7 separate regions of the Homo sapiens genome follow, and regions 2, 3, 4, 5, 6 and 7 are each linked to region 1. The links are contacts of gene promoters, found by promoter capture Hi-C in blood cells and fetal thymus (Javierre and others, 2016). All regions are on one chromosome and are shown on one strand. Each heading gives the region's core, a stretch centred on a gene start or on the middle of the fragment in contact. The rest is flanking DNA. Distances are from core to core; before and after follow the strand shown.

Region 1 (3,321 bases), core at 361-2,860:
TGGGTCTGGACCCACATTCACCCTACGGGGAGAAATAGCTGAGGTCAGAACCCAGGGCAGTCCTCTGTGGCCTCCGGGTTGGGAAGGCAGAACCAGAATCCAAAAGTGACCTGGGCATCTTGTGCCCAGCCCCCCACCTCCATGGAGACCCCAGGAGTCTGGGCTTCCATCCCCCTCTTCTATTAGAACCCAGAAAGTCACCACCCTGTTTTCTCACCTTCCCACGGCCCATTGTTGTTTGTTTGTTTGCTTGAAGACCAAGACGGAGTTGGGCCTCTTGATTCCCAGTGGCTGCAAGAACTGGGATTCCCTCTCCTTCTCTCTCTTCCCCTCTCCTCCCAAGGAAGCACCCAGTGTGGGTAGGGCCCCACCTTGGAGCACCCAGCATGTCCAGGCTGGTCCTGCGGGTGCGGGGTGCCTTGTCTCCCTTCCCCTCTCTTCATGTGCTCGGCTCACACTCCTTGTGTGTTTGGGCTGTCTCCAGCTGCGACCCCACCCAGGGCTGCACCCTTGGGTCTCCAAGGCACCGAATGAACAGAGGGATGTCTGTCGGCAGTCATAGGCGGGCGTAGTAAAAGACAGATGCCCACAGTCCACATATTGGGAAACTGAGGCTTTTGTGGAAGAACTCCAGGATAGGGGTGTGTGTGTGTGTGTGTGGTGGGGGTTGGGCACATGCTTTGTGTTATATTTAGGACGCAGAACCCTTCTCTTTTGGCCTCAGGCATAAGGCTGAAAGAGATCTGCTAATTTTTTTCGCGCGTGCGCGCGCGCGTATGTATGTATATGTGCGTGTGTGTGTGTGTGGCAAGGGGACAGAGAGAAGAGTGCAGCCGCCTGAGCCATTTGAAGAGATCCTGTTGCGTAGAATCCAGGTTCCCTACGAAACTACGAAAATTCACTCAGATTTGCTGTCCTAGCCCAGCGCAGTCGCTCACGCCTGTAGTTCCAGCACTTTGAGAGGCCGAGGCAGGTGGATCGCTTGAGCTGAGGAGTTCGAGACCAGTCTGGGCAACATGGCAAGACCCGCCGCCCTCTCACCCCATGTCTCCACAAAAAATACAAAAATTAGCCGAATGTGGTGGCGCGTGCGTGTAATCCCAGCTACTTAGGAGGCTGAAGTGGGAGGATCCCTTGGCCCCAGGAGACAGGGGTTGCAGAAAGCCGAGATCGTGCCACTGCACTCCATCCTGGGTGAGAGAGCAAGACCCTGTCTCAACAAAAAATTTTTAAAAAATAAAATAAATAATAATACAGCAAAAAGATTTGCTTTCTCGGCTTCAGTGTGGGCGGTAACTCCATCGTGCAATGAGAAAGGCGAATTTCTTCCAGACACCAATCCCGGAGGTCGCTTCTGTTGCTAGGCTCCCAGAAAGCAGGGTTCGGACGTCATTGGGAGGCGAGGCTAGAGCGGGGTTGTGTGTGGCGGAGGGAGGCGGGGCTGGAGGAAACGCTCGTTGCTAAGGAACGCAGCGCTCTTCCCGCTCTGGAGAGGCGCGACTGGGCTTGCGCAGTGTCGACGCCGGCGCCGGCGCGCCGGGGTTTGAAAGGCCCGAGCCTCGCGCGCTTGCGCACTTTAGCCAGCGCAGGGCGCACCCCGCCCCCTCCCACTCTCCCTGCCCCTCGGACCCCATACTCTACCTCATCCTTCTGGCCAGGCGAAGCCCACGACGTTGACATGCCGGAGATCCGCCTCCGCCATGTCGTGTCCTGCAGCAGCCAGGACTCGGTGAGGGACCTGCATGGGGGAGGTTGGAAGACGTGAGGGAATTAATGAGGATAGCTCTTAAAAGAGCTTTTGGGGTTCTCTTGGAAGTCTAAGGAGAGTCATGGGGGGATTTCCAGGAGGCTAAAAGTGAATTGTGGAGAGATGTTGAATTAGGGACGTTCCGGCGTCTAGGGAACTTCCGGAGAGAAAAGGAGGAATAGGGAAGCTTTCTTGGAGAGCCCATAGGTGAACTTCCACGGGAAAGTGTTGTAGGGGAAACTCCAGGCAGAGTGTCGGGGGATTAACGGGAGAGCTTAAATCTGGGGGTCGTAGAGGCCTTGGGAGGACTCAAAGGAATCATCTGAGAGCTGGAGGCCTAGCTGTCATCTCTGTGCCCTAATTCTCCTCTCCCACTGTTGTTTCCAGACTCACTGTGCAGAAAATCTTCTCAAGGCAGACACTTACCGAAAATGGCGGGCAGCCAAGGCAGGCGAGAAGACCATCTCTGTGGTCCTACAGGTGATCCTGCCACCCCACCTCCTCCTCACTAGGAGTCTGGAGTCCGGGGTTCCAGATTCTGCTCCTGAGCCAACTGGCAGTGGGTTTAGTCACTTTCTTTGCTGGGCCTCAGCTTCCTTACTCGGAAAATGGGCAGCATAATCCCTGTGCCCCTCAGCAGAGAGGAAAGGAGACCCAAGGATTAAGTCCAGGATGACCACAGGAATCAGTGTGTGGTCCTGGGCAGGTGGCATCTACTTTCTGGGTTCCAGTTTCCTCAGCTGGAACAAAATGAATCATTGCCACGTACTCTGCCTCCTGCAGCCAGTGGGCTCAGGGCTGGAAGGTGTCCAGGAAGGTCGTCTAAGCCAATCAACTCCACTTTAAAGAAGGGGAAACTGGCCGGATGCCGTGGCTCATGCCTGTAAACCCAGCACTTTCAGAGCCTGAGATGGGAGGATTGCTTGAGCTCAGGAGTTCCAGACCAGCCTGGGCAACATATCAAGACCCTGTCTCTATTTTTATTAAAATAAATAATTTTTTTTAAAGAATAATAGCCAGGTATGGTGGTTCACACCTGTAATCCCATCACTTTGGGAGGCCGAAGCTGGAGTATTGCATGAGCCCAGGAGTTTGAGACCAGCCTGGGCAATACAGTAAGATGTCATCTCTACCAAAATTTTATAGATTAGCTGAGTATGGTGGTGTGCACCTGCAATCCCAGCTACTGGCGAGTCTGAGGTGAGAGAATTGCTTGAGCCCAGGAGATGGAGGCTGCAGTGAGCTGAGATTGTGCCACTGCACTCCAGCCTGGGCACCAGAGTGAGACCCCCAAAATATAAAAAATAAAATAATAATAATGAGAGCTGGCATTATTCAACGTTACCTGTCAGTCGCTGCTCTACACACCTCACTCACATGGATTAGCTCATTGAGTCCTCATAAAAAACCCCAAGAGGCAGGCTCTGTTATCCCCACTTTTACAGATGAGGAAACTGAGGCCCAAAGAAGTTATACAATTTGCCTGACAGTCAATCTTTTATTTATCTGTTGAGACAGAGTCTCACTCTGTTCCCAGGCTGTAGTGCAGTGGCATGATCTTGGCTTGGCTCACT
Region 2 (3,321 bases), core at 314-2,813, 250 kb before region 1:
CCAGAAACATTCCCTTACTTAAAATCCCTTATACCTTGCCTTTCTTTAAGCATCATGACTATGGGCCAGGCATGGTGGCTCACACCTGCAGTCCCAGCACTTTGGGACGCCAAGGCCAGAGGAACACCTGAGCCCAGGACTTCAAGGTTGCACTGAGCTATGACTATACTACTGCACTCAGCCTGGGCAACAGAGTGAGACCTTGTCTCTAAAAAAAGTTAAAAAAAAATTTTAATTATGACTACAGAAAAGATAAAAAATAATGTTTATATAACACCACCTAATTACTAATCTCTTCAAATAATCATAGTATAAAATAATGCTCTAATAGCAATCTACAAGAGGTGCCTTTCTATAACTCTTCAGTGCATCATAATGCACTGAAGTATTTGAACAATTTGCCATATGAACAGGTGGGTAAGAATTGTGGAGAAGAACAATAGGGGGCCACTGGGAGGAAATATGTACCAGCATGGCGGGTCATGTAACTGGGAAAACCCAGTCAAGATATTTCAGGCCAAGGAAAGAAAATGTTCTCATGACCTAGAAGCAAAGGTAATTGTATGTGTATGTATTTAAAAAGTATGTATAAAAAACCTCACCTGAACCTTGATTTCTAAACATGCAAAAATCCTTTTCTCCTCTTCAAACTCCTTCTTAGAAATCTGGCAACCTGGCAGCACTGGGGGAAAAAACAGTAACATGAGACATCAGCATTTCTAGCGCGTCACAGACTTAATTAAAAAAGAAAAAGAAGAGCAAAACACCCTCTGGGGCCACTTCTGCCTTCATCCACACAAAACCAAACGGAATGAAAAGGGAGGCTAGAGTCTGTCTCTGTGTTGAGGGCAATTCTTGGGGACAGAGGTCTGCTTGCAATGGCTCTGAAACATGTAGCTCACCACCAAAGAGCTCCTAGAGGCCCCTCTTCTAGGAATCCCACCTCTAGAACTTCCCCATCAGGTCTTGACAAGATCCTGTCCCGCGGACACTTCCAGATCTAAAATTCTCATCCTTCTTGCTTGAAACGTTCATTATGGGGCTTAGCATAGACTTCTTTCTTGCGGTCATTTAATTGTGGCAGGCCCGAAGACAGGCTAAAGGGAACCTAGAGCATTTGGTCAAAGCAAATCACATTTACAAATACGGCCACGCACCCTGTCAGCCCGTCACACATTCACAACTGCACCCACCTCCGTGGGGACACGCCCCGTCCCTGCCACGCCGTCTGAGACACACTGTCCCTCGGCTGCTCGCGTGCACACAGGCTTGAGGATCCGGACACGACACGCTCTGTCCGTGACCCAGCCCTCCCCACCTCCAGCACCCCCGATGCCACCCCCACCCTCACTGCCGGTTCCAGTCGGGCCCCAGTAAAGCCAGCCGAGCCCTCCCAGCTTCACCCGGGCTGATTACTTCTACAGACACGACCAACTCACCATGCAGAGTCCAAGAACCTTAAGGACACCGGAAAAGGACCCAGAGACCTGTGGTTAGTTTGGACCCAGAGGCTGATGGGAAACAAGAGCCTGGAAATGCTCGCAGGCTGGGAGAGGAGCTTCTGGCAGGCAAGCTCGCCCCGCCCCTAAAAGGCCTGTGCCCCGGAGACTTCTGGGAAATGTAGTCCACAGCGGCAGAGTCTCCGGAAGTTGAAACCTGGACAGCAGGGATGCTCCCAGCATGCAACTTGGCTTCACCTGTCAAAGGCGCTTTTTTCGAAGACGCCCGGGAGCTCTTGCTTTTGCTTGAGGGTCTTTGGTGTTGACTGAGAGCGAATTAAAAGGTTCTCAGCTTTCGCTAAGGAACGCATTCTGGAGTCTAGAACAGGCGAAGATGGGACTGGGGTGTCTGGGGACTTAGACGTGAGCGAGCAAGGGAATCCGGGGTAAGTTCGCTGGAAATGACCTGCGCGACACTACCAGTTTACCTGGGTATGAGCGCCTGGAACAGTGTCTGGCAATTGAACAGATGGGTGTGTCTTGCTGTGAGGGAGTTTCTTAGTTCGATTCGGTGTCTGGGACCCTGCGTGGACCTGTTTATGTTCATGGGATGTTTTCTAAATTTATGCCTGTGTGAGTCTGTTTTATTAGGTGTGAGATGAACTGTGTTACAGATTTTATATGCCGCTGTTGAAAGACAACAATAAGTGGTAGTGAGTGGATATTGTGACCGTGGAGACTTATGGCAGTGCAAAGGCGGCCATAAACAATGCACAAGCAATCCAGCATGGCTGTGTTCCAATAAAACTTGATGGATTATAAAATTTGAATCTCATTTTTTATAGAGTATGAAACCATTTATTCTGAAGCACACACTCATACTCCAAAAACAATACTATATATTCCCTCTCTCTCTCTCCTGTGTGTTTGCGTGTGTGTGTGTGTGGGTGTGTGAGAGAGAGAAAGGTTTTAAAGGAGACAACTAACTGATTCTGAGGTTAGGGCAAAAAGATTGGGGCTGTGGTTGGTGTGGTAAGAACCTTTGGATATAAATACTTTTTTAAAAAAGAATTGTCTAAAAATATTAAAGCGAAATTTTATATTAAAACTAACAGAAAGAAAAGGAAGTTACTTTTTAGGGGCTCTTTCTGGTCACTGATATCACCTCTCTCATCCTCTGCCATCTCTCACCTCCTGGTCTCTCTTGCTTATCAAGAGAAGACTAGAGCTCTTGGATCCCAGCTTTTCCCCTGCCTCAGCTGAGGCCACTACCCTGGTTGACTCCCATGGTGACATGGATGCCTCATCCAGTATCGTGGGTCTGAGTCCTCATCTGCAGGGTCCTTGAGCTTTCCTCGGCACCCATCCCCGTTTCCCATCTGGGACTTCATTATCATCAGCATCTGCTCCACCTCCAAAACCACTGGTGGAAGCAGCCTCCTCTCTTCCCATGTTACTTGCTCAATGACTCCCACAAGTACTACTCTGAATATTTTGGGGGTCTGATTTTTTTTTAATTTTTTATTTCCATAGGTTTTTGGGAAACAGGTGGTGTTTGGTTACATGAGTAACTTCTTCAGTGGTGATTTGTGAGATTTTGGTGCACCCATCACCTGAACAGTGTACATGGCACCCAATTTTTAGTCTTTTATCCCTCACCCCCTTTCCACCCTTTCCCCCAAGTCCCCAAAGTCCACTGTGTCATTCTTAGGCCTTTGCATCCTCACACCTTAGCTCCCACTTATGAGTGAGAATATACGATGTTTGATTTTCCATTCCTGAGTTGCTTCACTTAGAATAATAGTCTCCAGGCCGGGCATGGTGGTTCACACCTGTAATCCCAGCACTTTGGGAGGCTGAGGCAGCTGGATCACCTGAAGTC
Region 3 (3,321 bases), core at 387-2,886, 220 kb before region 1:
CGGGGAAGGCGTGGCCTCCGCTGGGCGCCTGCTCTTGGCGCGCTAGGATCCCAACCCCCGAGACGTGCTAGGCGCGGGCTCTGGCGCAGTGCGCAGCCCGCACGACTGTGCCAGGGTACCACTGCCTGAGTGTGCATCTACGCTCTCTTGCCAGCACCCGACCCGCCGACGCTCAGCGGCGCCGAGTGCTACGCCTGTATCGGGGTCCACCAGGATGACTGCGCTATCGGCAGGTCCCGACGAGTCCAGTGTCACCAGGACCAGACCGCCTGCTTCCAGGGCAATGGCAGAATGACAGTTGGTAAGGGGCTGGAAGGGTGGAAGGGCCTGGGCAAGGGATATGGAGGCAGGGCAGCCATGAGGGTAGTGATACCAGACAGGCCCAACAGGGAGACATGGCCCTGCTCTGAGGTGGGAGGCATGACCCTGGTCTGAGGGAGAAGGTTTGACCCTGGTCTGAGGGAGAAGATTTGGCCCTGGTCTGAGGGAGAAGATTTGGCCCTGGTCTGAGGGAGGAGGCATGACCCTGGTCTGAGGGAGGAGGCATGACCCTGGTCTGAGGGAGGAGGCATGACCCTGGTCTGAGGGAGGAGGCAAGACCCTGGTCTGAGGGAGAAGCCTGGCCCTGCTCTGAGGAAGGAGGCCATGCCCTGGTCTGAGGGAGGAGGCATAACCCTGGTCTGGGGGAGGAGGCATGGCCCCTGGTCTGAGGGAAGAGGCATGGCCCTGGTCTGAGGGAGGAGGCACGACCCTGTTCTGAGGGAAGAGGCATGGCCCTGGTCTGAGGGAGGCCTGGCCCTGGTCTTAGGAGGAAAACCTGAAGCAAGTCTGAGGACCGAGGCATGGCCCTAGCTACCAAGGTGAAGGTTCAGGTGCAGCTGTCTCCCTCAGTTCTGACCGTTCCTCACTGCTTTGCCCACCTCCAGGCAATTTCTCAGTCCCTGTGTACATCAGAACCTGCCACCGGCCCTCCTGCACCACCGAGGGCACCACCAGCCCCTGGACAGCCATCGACCTCCAGGGCTCCTGCTGTGAGGGGTACCTCTGCAACAGGAAATCCATGACCCAGCCCTTCACCAGTGCTTCAGCCACCACCCCTCCCCGAGCACTACAGGTCCTGGCCCTGCTCCTCCCAGTCCTCCTGCTGGTGGGGCTCTCAGCATAGACCGCCCCTCCAGGATGCTGGGGACAGGGCTCACACACCTCATTCTTGCTGCTTCAGCCCCTATCACATAGCTCACTGGAAAATGATGTTAAAGTAAGAATTGCACTCCTGTCCCTCTGGCCTTCCATCTCTCCCGCCCTTGTGCCCCACAACCTGGCCAACAGTACTGGAAGAAACTGGACACAGTCACCAGCATCCCCGGGGAGGGCAAAACAGCCATGTCGTGCCCCGATGAAGAGCAATTCTGATCACAGCTGTTACTCACTGAGCACCAGCCAGGCACCAGGCACCCCATAACACGGCTTCCTGTGCTCTCCCTCCAGAGCCTGTCGCAGCTCTAGGAGGGAGCTATACAATGATGTCTTTATTAGTGTCATCATGAGAAGCCCAATAAGCAGTATGCCCTAACAGTTAGTAGGCCAGGCTCTGGAGCTAAGCTGCATGGGTTCAAATCCCAGCTCCACCATTCAGCCTGCAGAGACCATGAGCGAGTTACTTAAGCCAGGCTCTGGAGCTAAGCTGCATGGGTTCAAATCCCAGCTCCAGCATTCAGCCTACAGAGACCATGGGTGAGTTACTTAAGCCAGGCTCTGGAGCTAAGCTGCATGGGTTCAAATCCCAGCTCCACCATTCAGCCTGCAGAGACTGTGGGTGAGTTACTTGAGCTCTCTGTGCCAATATTTTCTCACCTATAAGGTGGAGGTGAAAATAAACTCTATAACATGACAAGAACTACTTCACAGTAGTTGCAGTGAGGATTCAACGAGATGAACATTTAGTACTTGGGACACAGCAGTGGCCCAGTGTAAATGGGCTACTTGTCATAAGCCCTAAGTCACAGGTCAACAAACTGAGAGGCAAAAGCACTTGGTTGAGCTTGTGTATCTAGTGAGTATGGATTCAGGGACCAGATTCCCAGCCCCACGAACTGCTAAGCAACCCCACCTCCTAAACACATGAGTGCCGATTAACTTCACAGAAAAACACACAAGGCAAAGTTCAGCGAGGTGAAATTCTCCAAGCTATAAAGATCAGGGAAGACTTCCTGGAGGAATTCACCCTTGAGCAAAATCCTAAAGGATCAATAGTAGCTGGCAAAAAGAAGCAGGAGGAAGCGCATTCTAGGTAGAGGAGACAGCCTGGACAAAGGTCTGAGGGAGGAAGGAGCACAAGGAGTGCAGGACACTTTCATGAGTGCAGGACACTTTCATAACTGCATGAACTTCATAGAGATGGGATCCTTTAGCATGTTCTCTGTGCACATGCTTGACCATGTTCTTTCACATGCTTTTTGCCACTTGATCTTTCCAGCAACTCAGTGAGAGAAGCAAAAAAGTAAGTTGCATCCTGCTATTGTCTGAATGTTTGTGTCTCCCCAAAATTCATCTTTTGAAACCTAATTACCAAAGTGATATTACTGGGAGGTGGGGCCTTTGGGAGGTGGTGAGATCATGAGGGTGGAGCCCCCATGAATAGGATTAGTGCCCTTATAAAAGAGGCCCTGGAGAGCTGCCTTGCCCCTTCCACCACATGAGAACACAGCCAGCAGGTGCCTATAAGCAAGAAAGTGGGTTCTCACCAGCCATCGAATCTGCTGGTGCATTGATTGCAGACTTCCCAGACTCCAGAGCTATGAGACATAAATTTCTGTTGTGTATAAGCCATACAGTCTATGGTATTTTGTTACAGCAGCCTGAAGGGACTAAGACACCTTCCTGTTTTACAGACAAGATGCCCAAAGCACAGTGAGAGAGCAATTTTCAGAGTAAGTGCATAGCAAGAGTAGACTCCCGTGTCTTCTCGCTCCATGTCAGCAAGTAGACTTGTGGGAAGGGGGGCAATTCAGAAACACTCCGCTCCTATGCTCCTGTAAGGCCATGTGACAAGGGCTTCAGGTGTCTTTACATCCTGACATACAAGGGGAAGCTGGATGTCTTCATTCATCCTTCACATTTACTGAGCACCTACTATGTGCAAGGCACTGTTCCAGTTGCTGGGCATGCAGCAGGGAACTAAAGTGGCAAAAATTCCCACCTTCAAGGAGCTAGCCTTTTTGATGGGCTAGCAATCCAAAGCGAACTTTGGATTTTGCTTGTGTATTTATTAGAGACAAGGTCTCGCTCTATCCCAGGCTGGAGTGCAGTGGCACAATCAGC
Region 4 (3,321 bases), core at 243-2,742, 210 kb before region 1:
CGGTAGACCTCAGTGTCAGTAGTATCAGTGAGTGGTGACATCTGGTGTTTTATGGGACATGTGGTCGTTTGTGGAAGGTTGGGTGTGTTGGAAAACATTGTGTTTATGTGTTTTGCGTTACTGTGTGCTGGTGTATTACTCCGCGTATGTTGTTGTGTGGCCACGCATGTTGGAATATAACGTGTTGGGTTGTGTGGAGGTATTGTATGTCATGTTTGGGTGTGGCTCATGGCTCAGAGGTGATGGTGTATGTTGCGTTTGTTTTTTTGTTTTTGCTTGTTTTAGAGATAGGATCTTGCTATGTTGCCCAGGCTGGTCTCAAACCCCTGGGCTCCAGCAATCCTCCCACCTCAACCTCCCAAACTGCTGGGATTACAGGCATGAGCCACTGCACCCAGCCGTATGTTGCATTTGGGCACTGGGGTCTATGAAGGTCCAACCCCATCCCCTTCCCCCAGGGCATCATCCTGGATGTTGTCCTGTGTGGCCAGAATATACCAGAATCATCTTGCTTCAGGCATGTGCTTCTTGGGTTTCTCCGTGTGTCGCTGTACCTTGTAGGTCTCTGCATGCATCCACTCAGCTTGTCCTCTGACCATACATTTGAATCGCACCACACATCAGAGCATGCTGAATCAGTGCGTGTTTTGAATCATCACTGCGAGCACTTGTGTTCGAGTCAACAGGCGCCACAATGTATGTGCAATTCTCTAGCTCTGGGTGATTGGGGGCTACTATAGGTATGTCCCTAAATGTTGTGTGTCTACACGTATTGGGTTTCGTTCCAAGGGTGTGTAGTGTTTAGGAAACTGGGACTGCACAGTGTTTGTGTCGGTGTGTGGTGTGTGGCATCAGGGCGTCACTACTTTAATATATATTGTGTGTTTGTGTAACACCTGGTGTATGTTGTGTTTGTGTGGCCACAGTTGTGCATCGTCCTATTTGTGGTGTTTGGGTGTGGCTCTTTGTGTCAGAGAAAGTTGTGACAACTTTGAGTGTAATATTTGTGCCTGTGTGTGGACGGTGTTTGGGTGGCTGTGTGTGCCACGGGATACTGCCTGCTTGCTAAGTGCTGGTGTGTGTCACACCATGTGTGTGGTGTCTGGGTGTGGCTGTGGGTTTCAGAGCTTGCTGGGAGTTGTGAGTCACTCTGTGTAGGTTGTGTTGTGTGCCCTGGTGTGTTAGTCTCCGTCTTGGGCTGTGGAGTGTCCTTCGGTGTCTGGGTGTGGTGAGTAGAGGTGTGTGTCACAAAGTACAGACCATTGTGTGTGACAAAGCCCATCGTGTGTCTGTGTGTGTCTTTATCCACGTGGATGGACGTCTCTTTCTTGCTCTGCCCCAAGACACACCCTAGCCCCTCCTTATTCTCAAAAGGGGGAGCTGGGGAGCCTCCCCCTACCCTGGGGCCTCCCCTGCCCCTCCCCGCCCTGCCTGGCCGTCACCACTCCCCAGAGGGCACAGGGCTCTGCTGTGCCTCAGAGCAAAAGTCCCAGAGCCAGCAGAGCAGGCTGACGACCTGCAAGCCACAGTGGCTGCCCTGTGCGTGCTGCGAGGTGGGGGACCCTGGGCAGGAAGCTGGCTGAGCCCCAAGACCCCGGGGGCCATGGGCGGGGATCTGGTGCTTGGCCTGGGGGCCTTGAGACGCCGAAAGCGCTTGCTGGAGCAGGAGAAGTCTCTGGCCGGCTGGGCACTGGTGCTGGCAGGAACTGGCATTGGACTCATGGTGCTGCATGCAGAGATGCTGTGGTTCGGGGGGTGCTCGGTGAGTGGGGCATGGTGGCTGGGAGCTGGGACTCCTAGGTCTGAGGGAGGAGGGGCTGGGGGTCAGGACTCTTGGGTCTGAGGGAGGGGGGGCTGGGGGTCAGGACTCCTGGGTCTGAGGGAGGAGGGGCTGAGGGTCAGGACTCCTGGGTCTGAGGGAGGAGGGACTGGGGACTTGGACTCCTGGGTCTGAGGGAGGAGGGACTGAGGGCCTGGACTCCTGGGTCTGAGGGAGGAGGGGCTGGGGGTCAGGACTCCTGGGTCTGAGGGAGGAGGGGCTGGGGTCTGGACTCCTGGGTCTGAGGGAGGAGGGGCTGGGGGTCAGGACTCCTGGATCTGAGGGAGGAGAGGTTGGGGGCCTAGACTCTTGGGTCTGAGGGAGGAGGGGCTTTGGCTGGGACTCCTGGGTGCTCCCAGGAGACAGTTGCTGGGGTCCTTCTCTGCAAAAGGAAGGGAATATTTGTTTCAGTGTTTCAGTCTTTGAAGATGTTGCCATTAGACGGCCAGAGGTCCAGGACCCCTGGAGGCCAGAGGGTGGCTGATCAGACACTCAAGCCCCCCAAGAGCCAATAAGGGGAGAGGTAGCCCCAGGTTTGGTGAAGGGAGAGTGGAGGAAAGACAAAGTTCTTCCAGTAGGCGGCAGCTCTTTGGTCCTTGTCTAACCTCTAATGTTTACCCAGTGCCTTAGATGCAAAGGACAGAAAAAACTGCCTTGGGGGTGGGGATGGGAAATGGGAAACAAACCTCTCCCCCGACCTGCCTCCCCCCACCAACCCCAACCCAGTCTCCACTGTTAACAAGCTCAATTTCTCCCCAAATCTGCATGCTGATTAGTCAGGGAAATAGTGGAGAGGTAGGCTTACAGTGGCCTGGACTCCTAGGTACCAGGAGAGGAGGGGGCTGGGTCCTGGATTCCTGAGTCTTAAGGAGAAGGGGGTTTTGATTGCTTTTGGGGAAGAGGGGCTGACTCCGAAGATGAGTGGTGAGTAGGGAAGAAAGGGGAAAGTGGGGTCAGGGCAGGTCTCAGCAGGCTCCCGTCACATTCCAGCCCTGGTCAGGCCAGTGATGGGGCAGATCAAGGACAAGGGTTGGAATAAGTGGCTTGAGGGGAGAACAGACTTGCTCAACAGGAAAGGAGGGGCTGGAGACCTCTCTGGCAGAAGGGTTGTGGAACTGGGCTGGTAGGGCCAGATGCGGACACTGATATGAAGATTGGGTAGATTCCTGAGGGTCTGATGTTCCGACTTGGATCTGGAGGGGGTGGTGGGCAGCTCTGAAGTGACCAGGAGCCACATGGAGGGTCAGGCATGCAGCTTCCTCTGGCAGGCGGCGGGCACTGAGGGGGTGGGGCCGCCGAAGTCCATGCCAACAGGAAGCATGGCCGGGGCCTGCCCGCCGCTCCCACGCCGAAGCACCGCACCCAGAAGCCGAGGTGGGAACACAGTGACCCTGGCAGATGGGAAGAGACGGGGTCCATCCTACCCCACTTCACCCCTCTGCTTTCTCACCCCTCATTTCTTCCTTCCCTCCACCATGGCCAGGCCACTGCCTCTATCAGTG
Region 5 (3,321 bases), core at 374-2,873, 190 kb before region 1:
ACTCAGATCAAGCTAGAAGTGTCTAGCCCCCTAAAGCTCTCATTTCCCTCCCAGCCAACAGCCCCCTTCATCCCAGGAACCACCATCCTGACCTGTCTTGATTCCTTTTGTTCAACTTTGAACTTTGGAAGGAACCCTGCTGCACGCCCTGGTGTGTATCTGTGTCTTGGGCTCTGCAGGGTGGTGGTGAGATTCAGCCATGCTGCTCATCCTTTTCATTACACAGTAGTATTCCATTGTGTCAGTATGCCCACAAGCCTCACCCGGGGGACTCTGCAAGCTCAGTCTCTCCCCGTCTTCTGGCCTCCCCTTCTCCTCCCTGTCCTGGCTGCTCAGGCCACTAGGCTCCTCTTCCTTCCCAAACTGCCTGCTGCTCTCCCCTCCTTCTTGCCCCATCCACTCAGAATAAAAATAAACATCACTAACATTTATTCAGTTCTTTGTTGTAGAGACGGGGGTCTCACTATGTTGCCCAGGCTGGTCTCAAACTCCTGGGCTCAAGAGATCCTCCCACCTTGGCCTCCCAAAGTGCTGGGATTACAGGCAGGAGCCACCATGCCCAGCCCAGCTATTTATTATGGTCCATAAAGGAAGCTGTATCATCATCATCAACACCAGACTGGCAGTCCAAAGGCATGCTTTAAGCTTTTATGTTGTGTGGAATAGCTGCTAACATATACAAACCAGGAGAGTGCTTTTTATAATTTGGAGGGGGTGTCAAATGATAAAACTTTCCTTTCTTTTTCCAGGATGAGCTGGCCCTTCTTCAAGTCAAGTCTAGCCCCCTCACCCTGTCCACACCTCCTCAAAAAACAGCTCCAAAGTCTCCTGGTCTCTTTTCCCTCTATCATTCCCATCTGCACACAAACATGCTATAATTTCTCCCATCTTATAAACATCCCACTGGAACTTTCAGAAGCATTTTAGATTCTCCATTTTCCTTAAAGTTCACTATTCACCAAACTGCAAAATATCTGTCGCTCTGTCACCTAGGCTGGAGTGCAGTGGCGTGATCTCGGCTCACTGCAACCTCTGCCTCTCAGCTTCAAGCAATTCTCGTGCCTCGGCCTCCCGAGTGTAGCTGGGATTACAGGTATGCACCTCCACCACGCCCAGCTAATTTTTTGTATTTTTAGTAGAGATGGGGTTTCATTATGTTGGCCAGGCTGGTCTCGAACTCCTAGCCTCACGTGTTCTGCCTGCCTCTGCCTCCGCCTCCCAAAGTGCTGGGATTACAGATGTGAGCCACCAAGCCCGGCCATAAAGTTGGTTCTAAACTCCTGCTACATAGAATGACATAAAAGACTTTGCCAGACATAAAGAGCTAAAGATGCCAGACACACGGAAGACATGCTGTAAGATTTCATTCGCATGAAGTTCAAAAACAGACACAACGAATCTCTGTGCCTGTTTTTGAAAGGCATTAGATGGGTGGTTGCTTCTGGAGCAGGGGAATTGACAGGGAAAGAGCACAAGGAAGACGTCTGGGTGCTGGAAATGTTCTCTGATTAGCGGTTACATGGATGCATAAATTTGTGAAAATTCATTACCTGGTACACTTAAGATCTGTGCCCTTTATATACTTTACCACACTTAAGTTATATGTCACCCAAAAAGAAAATAAATAAAAATAAAGAAAAATAAGTACTTATACATTTTTCCTGATAGATACTGAGAAGGTTCCATAACACAGTTAGATGGGGGATCAAAAGTCATGTCTTTTCCATGGTGGACCCCACATCTGCCTCCAGCTGCTGCCCCGTGTCTCTGCTCCTTAGTCCATTATCTTCTCTTTGGAACCCTTTGATCCCATGGCGCCAGGTCATCCCCTCTCCTGACACTCCTGGCTCCATCTCAGCCCCTCTCCAGGATCCTGGCTTCTACATGCGGGATGCTCAGGCCTAGTCCCTGCTCTCTTCAACCTCTCAGCCTAGATGATCTCAGCAAATCATAGCTTTAAATATCATCTATAAATAGGCAGCTCCAAAATTTAGCATACTTGTATAGTTATTAACAAAATGACAGGTTATCTGTGATTTTCTTAAAACAAACAAAACTCCAGGGGGTGGCGGGAAGTATGCTTATATGTGGGAGGGAAAAATAGAAGACATAAGACAAGAAAAATGCAGATGTCTGTCAATATTGGGCGATGGGTACGTGGGAGTCTCTTCATACCATAACATCTTTGTGTGTATTTTTAAAACTCTGTAGTGACTGTAATCCCAGCCTTTGGGAGGCTGATGGGGTGGATTGCTTGAACCCAGGGGTTCGAGACCAGCCTAGGCAGCATAGTGAACCCTCATCTCTAAAAAATTAGCCGGGTGTGCTAGAGCATATGTGGTCCCAGCTACTTGGGAGGCTGAGGCAGGAGGATTGCTTGAGCTCGGGAGGTGGAGGTTGCAGGGAGCCAAGATCGTGCCATTGCATTCCAGCCTGGGTGACAGTGCAAGACTTTGTCTCAAAATAAATTAATTAATTAAACTAAATTCTGTGACGCAAAGTCAGAAAGTCTTTATCTACAAACCCCGGCTTTTTCCCCTAACTCCAACCACTTATTTGATGACCAACGTGCATCTCAAAGTTAAGAATTTCAAAGCTTGTTGATTTCCCATCAAAAGTACTTTTCCTCATCCCGGTAAAAAGCCTCAGTCTTAGGCCGGGCGTGGTGGCTCACGCCTGTAATCTCAGCACTTTGGGAGGCTGAGGCGGGTGGATCACGAGGTCAGGAGATCGAGACCATCCTGGCTAACATGGTGAAACCCCGACTCTACTAAAAATACAAAAAAATTAGCCGGGCGTGGTGGTGGGCACCTGTAGTCCCAGCTACTCGGGAGGCTGAGGCAGGAGAATGGCATGAACCCAGGAAGCGGAGCTTGCAGTGAGCCGAGATCACGCCACTGTACTCCAGCCTGGGCGACAGAGCAAGACTCCATCTCAAAAAAAAAAAAAAAAAAAAAAAAAAAAAAGTCTCAGTCTTCAGGCAGTTGGCCAGGACCAAAACCTCTCGAACTTTTTTTTTTTAATTATTATTATACTTTAAGTTTTAGGGTACATGTGCACAATGTGCAGGTTTGTTACATATGTATACATGTGCCATGCTGGTGTGCTGCACCCATTAACTCGTCATTTAGCATTAGGTATATCTCCTAATGCTATCCCTCCCCCCTCCCCGCTAGAACTTTTTTTAATGCTGCAAATAACATGATGTTTTAATATATGTACACATTGTGGAATGGCTAAATCAAGCTAATTAACATATGCATTATTTCACATACTTATTTTTTTGTGGTGTGAGAAAACTTAAAATCTATTATTTTAGTA
Region 6 (3,321 bases), core at 454-2,953, 170 kb before region 1:
AGGGTCTTGCTCTGTCACCCAGGCTGGAGTGTAGTGGCCTGATCATGGCTTCACTGCAGCCTTGACCTGGGCCCAAGCCATCCTCCCACCTTGGCCATATGAGTAGCTGGGAACCACAGGTATGCACCACCATGCCCAACTAATTTTTTAATTTTTTGTAGAGACAGGATCTCACTGTGTTGCCCAGACTGGGCTCACGTGATCCTTTGACCCCAGCCTTCTGAGTAGCTAGGACTACATTTGTGTACCACCATGCCTGGCTAATTTATTTATTTTTTATTTTTGAGACAATTGTCGCTTTGTCACCCAGGGTGGAGTGCAGTGGCTCCATCTTGGCTTACTGCAACCTCTATCTCCTAGGTTTAGGCAATTCTCCTGCCTCAGCCTCCCGAGTAGCTGGGATTACAGGCGTGCACCACCACATCCGGCTAATTTTTGTATTTTTAATAGAGACAGGGTTTCACCATGTTGGCCAAGCTGGTCTTGAACTCCTGACCTCAAGTGATCCTCCCACCTTGGCCTCCCAAAGCTCTGGGATTACAGGCATGAGCGACCATGCCCTTAATATTTTTTTTTATTTTTTGTAGAGATGAGGTCTTGCTGTGTTGCCCAGACTAGGTTATAGTTTTAAATAGGATGGTGAGGGAAGGCCTTGCTAAGGGGAACGTTTGAGAAAAAGCATGCTGGGAGGAGCATTCCAGTGAAAGGGACTGGCATGGGCAATGCGTCTGAAGTGGGAGCTTGCCCATAGTGTGTGTAGAAGAACGTGGCAGCCTTAGAAGGGGAGTGGTAGGAGATAAGGCCAGAGAGGCAGAGCGAGGCACTCTGGCACTGGGCCTTGTAAGCCTATCTCCACTTTTTCCACCGTACGGTCCTCACCACATAGCAGCAAGGGGACCTTTCAAACCACAGTCTGATCCTGTCACTCCTCTACTTACATCTCTCCAGCAGCTTCTCCAGGCTCATAGGCCAAAGCCTTACCATGCTCCACAAGGGTCTGTGTATCCTCTTCTTGCTCCCTCCCCTCCCACATGCACCATCTTTCTGCTCTTGCCATGCTGGTCTTTGAGTCCTAGTACAACAAGCCACCTACTTTCTGCCGATGCAACCTTCCTCTGCGTCCATCCCCCACCCAGTGCCAATTAACTCCCTCTTTCTCTCTCACCCTCAGCATTGTCATTTCCCTCTCCAGGGCAGCCCTTTCTGGCTCCACCAACTAAGCAATCTGCACTTGGAGCACTGCACGCCTCTTCTTTCTAACACCCACAGTTACTGATTTCTGGTAATTTGTAAACTAGACCAGAAGCTTCACAGAAGCCGACTTAGTCTTTTTTGTTCACTGCTATATCCTGGTATCTGGCAAATAGGAGGTTTTCCGTATAGTGTTTGTAAAGTGGAAGGATGCCTGCTTTGTGTCAGACAACAGATTATGCATCTTGAGGGGAGATAGAAATTACCCCTTGAGAGGTAGGTACTATTACCCTGATTTTACAGATTTCAAAAGGTAAAATCACTTTGCCCAAGTCACAGAGTCACCAAGTTGAACTTAGTGGTTTAGGGCACGGCCCTGCTCTGCCTGCTTTGCCCTCATATTCCCAGCACCCAGCACACGTAGAAGTGAGGGAGACTCACCTGACAGGGGAAGATGCTGGGAACAAGACCCAAACTCTCTCTCACTGTGGGAGTGGAGGGCACTCAGTGCTCTCTCTCCAATGCCTGGGATCTAGTAGGTTTATTTGATAATTAACAGCTAAAAGTATATATCATTATATATCAGGCACCATTCTAAGGGCTTTACACATACCGACCTCACAGTAATACACAGAGTTTTGATCATGTGGTTATCCCCGTTTTATAGATGAGGAAACTGATGGAAAAAGGTTAAGGAGTGTGCCTAAAGCCACACAGCCAGGAAGAGGCAGAGCTGGGATCTGAATCCTGGCAGACTGGCGGAGTCTCTGCCCTTCAACACCTCAGTGTACTGGCTTCATTAATTGAACTAATGGATCTCTTTATGGATAGGAGTGAAATTGTGTGCTTCAAAACATGCACTACCCCCGCCTCCCACCCCCTGACATGGGCCACAGATGAAAAGCTTAGGGAGCAGGCAGGGCACCACGGCTCACATGCTCAGCTCACAGGGTCACACTTCGGATGCATCCAAGGCTGAGAACCAGAGCTCTCACACACCCCTGCCTGCTCCTCTCCACAGGACTTATGTTTTCCGGGCCCAGAGCGCTGAAATGAAGGAACGAGGGGGCAACCAGACCAGTGGCATCGACTTCTTTATTACCCAAGAACGGATTGTTTTCCTGGACACACAGGTGCCAGCCCCGCCTGCCTTTGCCCCACCCTGCCACATCCTGCATTGAGCCTCTTCCTGGAATGTGATTAAGCCAGAACCCTGCGTGGATTCCATGTGCTTCCAGTCAAGCCATGGACATACTGGCTGCCCTGGGGCAAATTGTGTCTTTTCTTGGCCCTTAGTCTCTTGTCACTTTTGCCCCCATCTCATTCGCCTTCTACACAGTAGCCTAAAGGATTTCTAGTATAGTGCTGAAAAGTGTGGGCCCTGGAGAATGTGTGTTCTGATCCTGTCTGTTAGTTCTTACCAGCTGGGTGACTTTCAGTTTTAAACTCCCTTAAACCACAGCTCTTTATCTGTAAATAGGGATGGTAACTGTACTTAGCCTCTTAGGAGTTTCAAGGATTCAGTGGAACAATCCAGGCAAAGTGCTTGGCCAGGACCTGGCACAAGGTTAGTGCTCAGGCTCGTCACTGTCGTTAGCACTGACTGGTCCTGCGTTTACCTGGCAGTTTTCCTCGGCTTCTCCCTTCCTCTCAGGCAAAGTCCAGATTCCTTAAGCTGGCATTCGGAGGGTGTGGCTTGCCTCCCTCAGACTGCCTATCCTCGCCTCTGGAGGAGCCACCAGACCCCCAGCACACACACACTGATCTCTCTCTTCTCTGGACTTCGCATATCCCGTTTTTACCTGAAACCACCAACGAATTGTGTGACCTTGTCAAGTTATTTATTTTCATTCCTCAGTTTTAAGTGGGAAAAACAATACTGCCTGCCTCATAGGGGTTTTGTGAGGTTTCAGTGCATCGATGCAAGTAAAGTCCTAATGACAGCACCCAACAGGAGTTAGGTGCTAAATACCCTTAGCAATTAATACCATTATCAGTACAATAGGCTCTCGCCTTGCGTTTTTGCCTGGCTAACGCCTTCTTCTTCCTCAAGACTCCACTGGGGTGTGGCCTCCTCTCAGAAGCCCTCCCCTTCCACTGTTGCCCATATGCACCTCCCACCATAGCATG
Region 7 (3,321 bases), core at 604-3,103, 130 kb after region 1:
CAGAGCAAGACTCTGTCTCAAAAAAAAAAAAAACAAAAAACAAAAAACAAAAAGAATGCAACTGGCTGGGCGCAGTGGCTCATGCCTGTTATCCCAGCACTTTGGGAGGCCGAGACTGGCGGATCACCTGAGGTCAGGAGTTCAAGACCAGCCTGGCCGACATGGCGAAACCCTTGCTCTACTAAAACATACAAAAATTAGCTGGGTGTGGTCGTGGGCACCTGGAATCCCAGCTACTTGGGAGACTGAGGCAGGAGAATCACTTGAACCCAGGAGGTGGAGGTTGCAGTGAGCCGAGATAGCACCACTGTACTCCAGCCTGGGTTACAGAGTGAGACTCCATTTCAAAAAAATGAATGCAACCACTTCTCTCTTATCTACCTATGATCTGGAAGCCCCCTCCTTTCTTCCAGTTTCCTGCCTTCACCTTGAGTTGTCCCACCTTTCTGGACTGAACCAATGTACATCTTACACCTACTGATTGATGTCTCATGTCTTCCTAAAAGGTATAAAACCAAGCTGTGCCCCTACCACCTTGGGCACGTGTCATCAGGACCTCCTGAGGCTGTGTCATGTGCGTGCATTCTCAACCTTGGTCTCCTAATTAACTTTCTGAATTAACTGAGACCTGTCTCAGATTTTCGGGGTTCACAGAGCAATTTATAAATCTTAACCCTGGTGATATGGTTTGGCTCTGTGTCCCCCCAAAACCTCATCTCAAATTGTAATCCCCACATGTGGAGGGAGGGACCTGGTGGGAGGTGATTCGATCTTGGGGGTGGTTCCCCCATGCAGTTCTCATGAGATCTGATGGTTTATAAGTGGCCGTTTCCCCTGCACTGTCTCTCCTGCCACCTTGTGAAGAAGGTGCTTGCTTCCCCTTCCCCTTCCGCCATGAGTGTAAGTTTCCTGAGGCTTCCTCAGCAATGTGGAACTGCAGGTCAATTAAACCTCTTTTGTTTATAAATTACCCAGTCTCAGGTAGTATCTTTTTTTTTGAGACAGAGTTTCCCTCTTGTTGCCCAGGCTGGAGTGCAGTAGTGCGATCTCGGCTCACAACCTCTGTCTCCTGGATTCAAGTGATTCTCCTGCCTCAGCCTCCTGAGTAGCTGATTACAGGTGCCTGCCACCATGCCTGACTTTTTTTTTTTTTTTGTATTTTTAGTAGAGACGGGTTTTCATCATGTTAGCCAGGCTGGTCTTGAACTCCTGACATCGGGTGATCTACCCACCTCAGCCTCCCAAAGAGTAGGGATTACAGGCATGAGCCACCTTGTCTGGCCAGTATCTTTATAGCAGGTAGTATCTTTATAGCAGTGTGAGAATGGACTAATACACCCTTTAATCTTTTCCTCACTTCCTTCAACACTAATGATTTTTGTGAACATTTATCTACTAACATATATTTAACATTATCTTTTTAAAAATTTTTTTGTGAGAGGGGGTCTTGCTCTGTCACCCAGCCTGGGGTGCAGTGGTGTGATCGCAGCTCATGGCAGCCTTGACCTCCTAGGCTTAGGCGATCCTTCTGCCTTAGTTTTCCAAGTAGCTGGGACCACAAGTGTGCACCACCATGCCTAGCTAATTTTTAGATTTTTTTTTTTTTTTTTTGAGACAGAGTCTCGCTCTGTCACCAGGCTGGAGTGCAGTGGTGCCATCTTGGCTCACTGCAACCTCTGCCTCCCAGGTTCAAACAATTCTCTTGCCTCAGCCTCCTGAGTAGCTGGGATTACAGGTGTATGCCACCATGCCTGGCTAATTTTTATATTCGTAGTAGAGATGGGGTTTCATTATATGTTGACCAGGCTGGTCTCAAATTCCTGACCTCAGGTGATCCACCTGCCTCAGCCTCCCAAAGTCCTGGAATTACAGGCGTGAGCCACCACACTCGGCCTTTTTAAATCACGTAAATAATACACAGACTTAATCCTGCTATAGAAATTCAAATGTAGAGTCAACCGTGAAAGTTTCCCTTGTCAAGATTCCCTGGCATCTCCTCTTCCATTCTACTTAGGACCTTGGAATGGGGAGATGCTGCATTTTGGAGGTAAAAATTCCAATAGTAAAGTGAAAGCTAGCATTTACTAAGCAGTCCCCATGACCCAGGCACATATGAACTTTTGAAGGTTATCAGAATCAAAATGGAGTCACTCATGTTAAAAAAAAGAAAAAGAAAAAAAAGCTCCGACCAACAGAGTGAAGGAAAGCCATGGAGAGAGGGTTCTCATACTTGTATGACTGATCACAAAAACTATCACAAAAAAACTGCAAAAAACACAATCTCACACAAAGACCATTGCAAACTTACACAGAAAAATACTTCTGCAAGGACGTTTGCCCAGCAACTGCCTGTCCAACCCCAGACTGGCATCATCTTTGTGATTCATTTTTCTAGCCAAAGATGATTATTTCAAAACCATTATGTAATTCTCCTCATTTTTTTTCTTTAAAAACCTTTGTCTTCTTTGACCTCCTTGAATATGTATAACACTCCTATTCCCATTGCAATTCTCTGTTCTTGAATAAACTTTTTTTTTTTTTTTGAGATGTAGTTTCACTCTTTCGCCCATGCTGGAGTGCAGTGGCATGAACTTGGCTCACTGCAACCTCCACCCCCCGGGTTCAACTGATTCTCCTGCCTTGGCCTCCCTAGCAGCTGGGATTACATGCACCTGCCATGATGCCTGGCTAATTTTTGTATTTTTAGTAGAGATGAGGCTTTGCCATGTTGGTCAGGTTCGTCTCGAACTCCTGACCTCAAGTGATCCACCCGCCTCGGCCTCCCAAAGTGCTAGGATTACAGACGTGAGCCACCTCGCCCAACCAATTTTTGTTTCTTTTAGAGAGCCTCTCGCTGTTTGTTATCTAGGTTGACAACTAATTTAATCACAATAAAATCCACACTCCAAGCTAGGAGTGGCCTGTGCCTGTAGTCTCAGCTACGTGGGAGGCTAAGACAGGAGAATAGCTTGAGCCCAGGAGGTTGAGGCTGCAGTGAGCCATGATTGTGCCACTATACTCCAGCCTGGGCGATAGAGCAAGACCCTGCCTTAAAAAAAAAAATGGCTGGACACGGTGGCTCACGCCTGTAATCTCAGCACTTTGGGAGGCTGAGGTGGGTGGAGTACTTGCGTTCAGGAGTTCGAGACCAGCCTGGGCAATATGGCAAAACCCTGTCTCTACTAAAAATACAAAAAATTAGCCGGGCATGGTGGTGCATGCCTGTAATCCCAGCTACTCTGGAGGCTGAGGCAGGAGAATCACTTGAACCCAGGAGATGGAGGTTGCAGTGAGCCAAGATCGCGCCACTGCACTCCAACC

Evidence for each region. Contacts are between HindIII fragments. The CHiCAGO score rates a contact against its expected background, and 5 or more counts as called.
Region 2: a contact is called between the fragment with the promoter of ZNF283 here and the fragment with the promoter of XRCC1 in region 1, in 14 of 17 cell types (neutrophils, activated CD4 T cells, naive CD8 T cells and 11 more). The highest score is 17.8, in neutrophils.
Region 3: a fragment that was not itself captured here is called in contact with the fragment with the promoter of XRCC1 in region 1 in 3 of 17 cell types (activated CD4 T cells, non-activated CD4 T cells and naive CD4 T cells); the score reaches 6.2 in activated CD4 T cells.
Region 4: the fragment with the promoter of KCNN4 here is called in contact with the fragment with the promoter of XRCC1 in region 1 in 3 of 17 cell types (neutrophils, activated CD4 T cells and naive CD4 T cells); the score reaches 6.3 in neutrophils.
Region 5: a fragment that was not itself captured here is called in contact with the fragment with the promoter of XRCC1 in region 1 in 8 of 17 cell types (non-activated CD4 T cells, monocytes, total B cells and 5 more); the score reaches 8.4 in non-activated CD4 T cells.
Region 6: a contact is called between a fragment that was not itself captured here and the fragment with the promoter of XRCC1 in region 1, in 3 of 17 cell types (non-activated CD4 T cells, total B cells and naive CD4 T cells). The highest score is 5.8, in non-activated CD4 T cells.
Region 7: a contact is called between a fragment that was not itself captured here and the fragment with the promoter of XRCC1 in region 1, in 10 of 17 cell types (naive CD4 T cells, total CD8 T cells, naive CD8 T cells and 7 more). The highest score is 15.6, in naive CD4 T cells.

Annotation. Positions count from the first base shown.
Region 1 is chr19:43,573,816-43,577,136 of GRCh38, reverse strand. XRCC1 (X-ray repair cross complementing 1) reads left to right here and starts at 1,610. Exons shown (of 17, transcript NM_006297.3): 1 at 1,610-1,729; 2 at 2,135-2,227. The coding sequence starts at 1,679. PINLYP (phospholipase A2 inhibitor and LY6/PLAUR domain containing) reads right to left here and starts at 1,336. Exons shown (of 6, transcript NM_001193621.3): 1 at 218-1,336; 2 at 1-22. RefSeq lists enhancers at 184-709, 710-1,236, 1,237-1,396 and a silencer at 1,497-1,656. The HindIII fragment of the contact is 21,720 bases long and covers 1-1,936 here.
Region 2 is chr19:43,825,563-43,828,883 of GRCh38, reverse strand. It overlaps ZNF283 (zinc finger protein 283), which reads right to left and starts at 1,563. Exons shown (of 7, transcript NM_181845.2): 1 at 1,440-1,563; 2 at 603-682. RefSeq lists an enhancer at 1,506-1,705. The HindIII fragment of the contact is 6,325 bases long and covers 1-3,321 here.
Region 3 is chr19:43,795,435-43,798,755 of GRCh38, reverse strand. It overlaps LYPD5 (LY6/PLAUR domain containing 5), which reads left to right. Exons shown (of 5, transcript NM_001031749.3): 4 at 155-301; 5 at 927-2,829. The coding sequence ends at 1,165. Among named protein-coding and RNA genes, the nearest start is that of LYPD5, 5.4 kb to the left of the region's middle. The HindIII fragment of the contact is 6,084 bases long and covers 1-3,321 here.
Region 4 is chr19:43,779,144-43,782,464 of GRCh38, reverse strand. It overlaps KCNN4 (potassium calcium-activated channel subfamily N member 4), which reads left to right and starts at 1,492. Exons shown (of 9, transcript NM_002250.3): 1 at 1,492-1,762. The coding sequence starts at 1,604. RefSeq lists a silencer at 1,241-1,510 and enhancers at 2,117-2,246, 2,605-3,104. The HindIII fragment of the contact is 12,714 bases long and covers 1-3,321 here.
Region 5 is chr19:43,759,908-43,763,228 of GRCh38, reverse strand. No RefSeq gene overlaps it. Among named protein-coding and RNA genes, the nearest start is that of SMG9, 6.6 kb to the right of the region's middle. The HindIII fragment of the contact is 1,951 bases long and covers 648-2,598 here.
Region 6 is chr19:43,739,110-43,742,430 of GRCh38, reverse strand. It overlaps SMG9 (SMG9 nonsense mediated mRNA decay factor), which reads left to right. Exons shown (of 14, transcript NM_019108.4): 7 at 2,213-2,324. Among named protein-coding and RNA genes, the nearest start is that of SMG9, 14 kb to the left of the region's middle. The HindIII fragment of the contact is 789 bases long and covers 1,309-2,097 here.
Region 7 is chr19:43,440,968-43,444,288 of GRCh38, reverse strand. No RefSeq gene overlaps it. Among named protein-coding and RNA genes, the nearest start is that of LYPD3, 23 kb to the left of the region's middle. The HindIII fragment of the contact is 6,258 bases long and covers 1-3,321 here.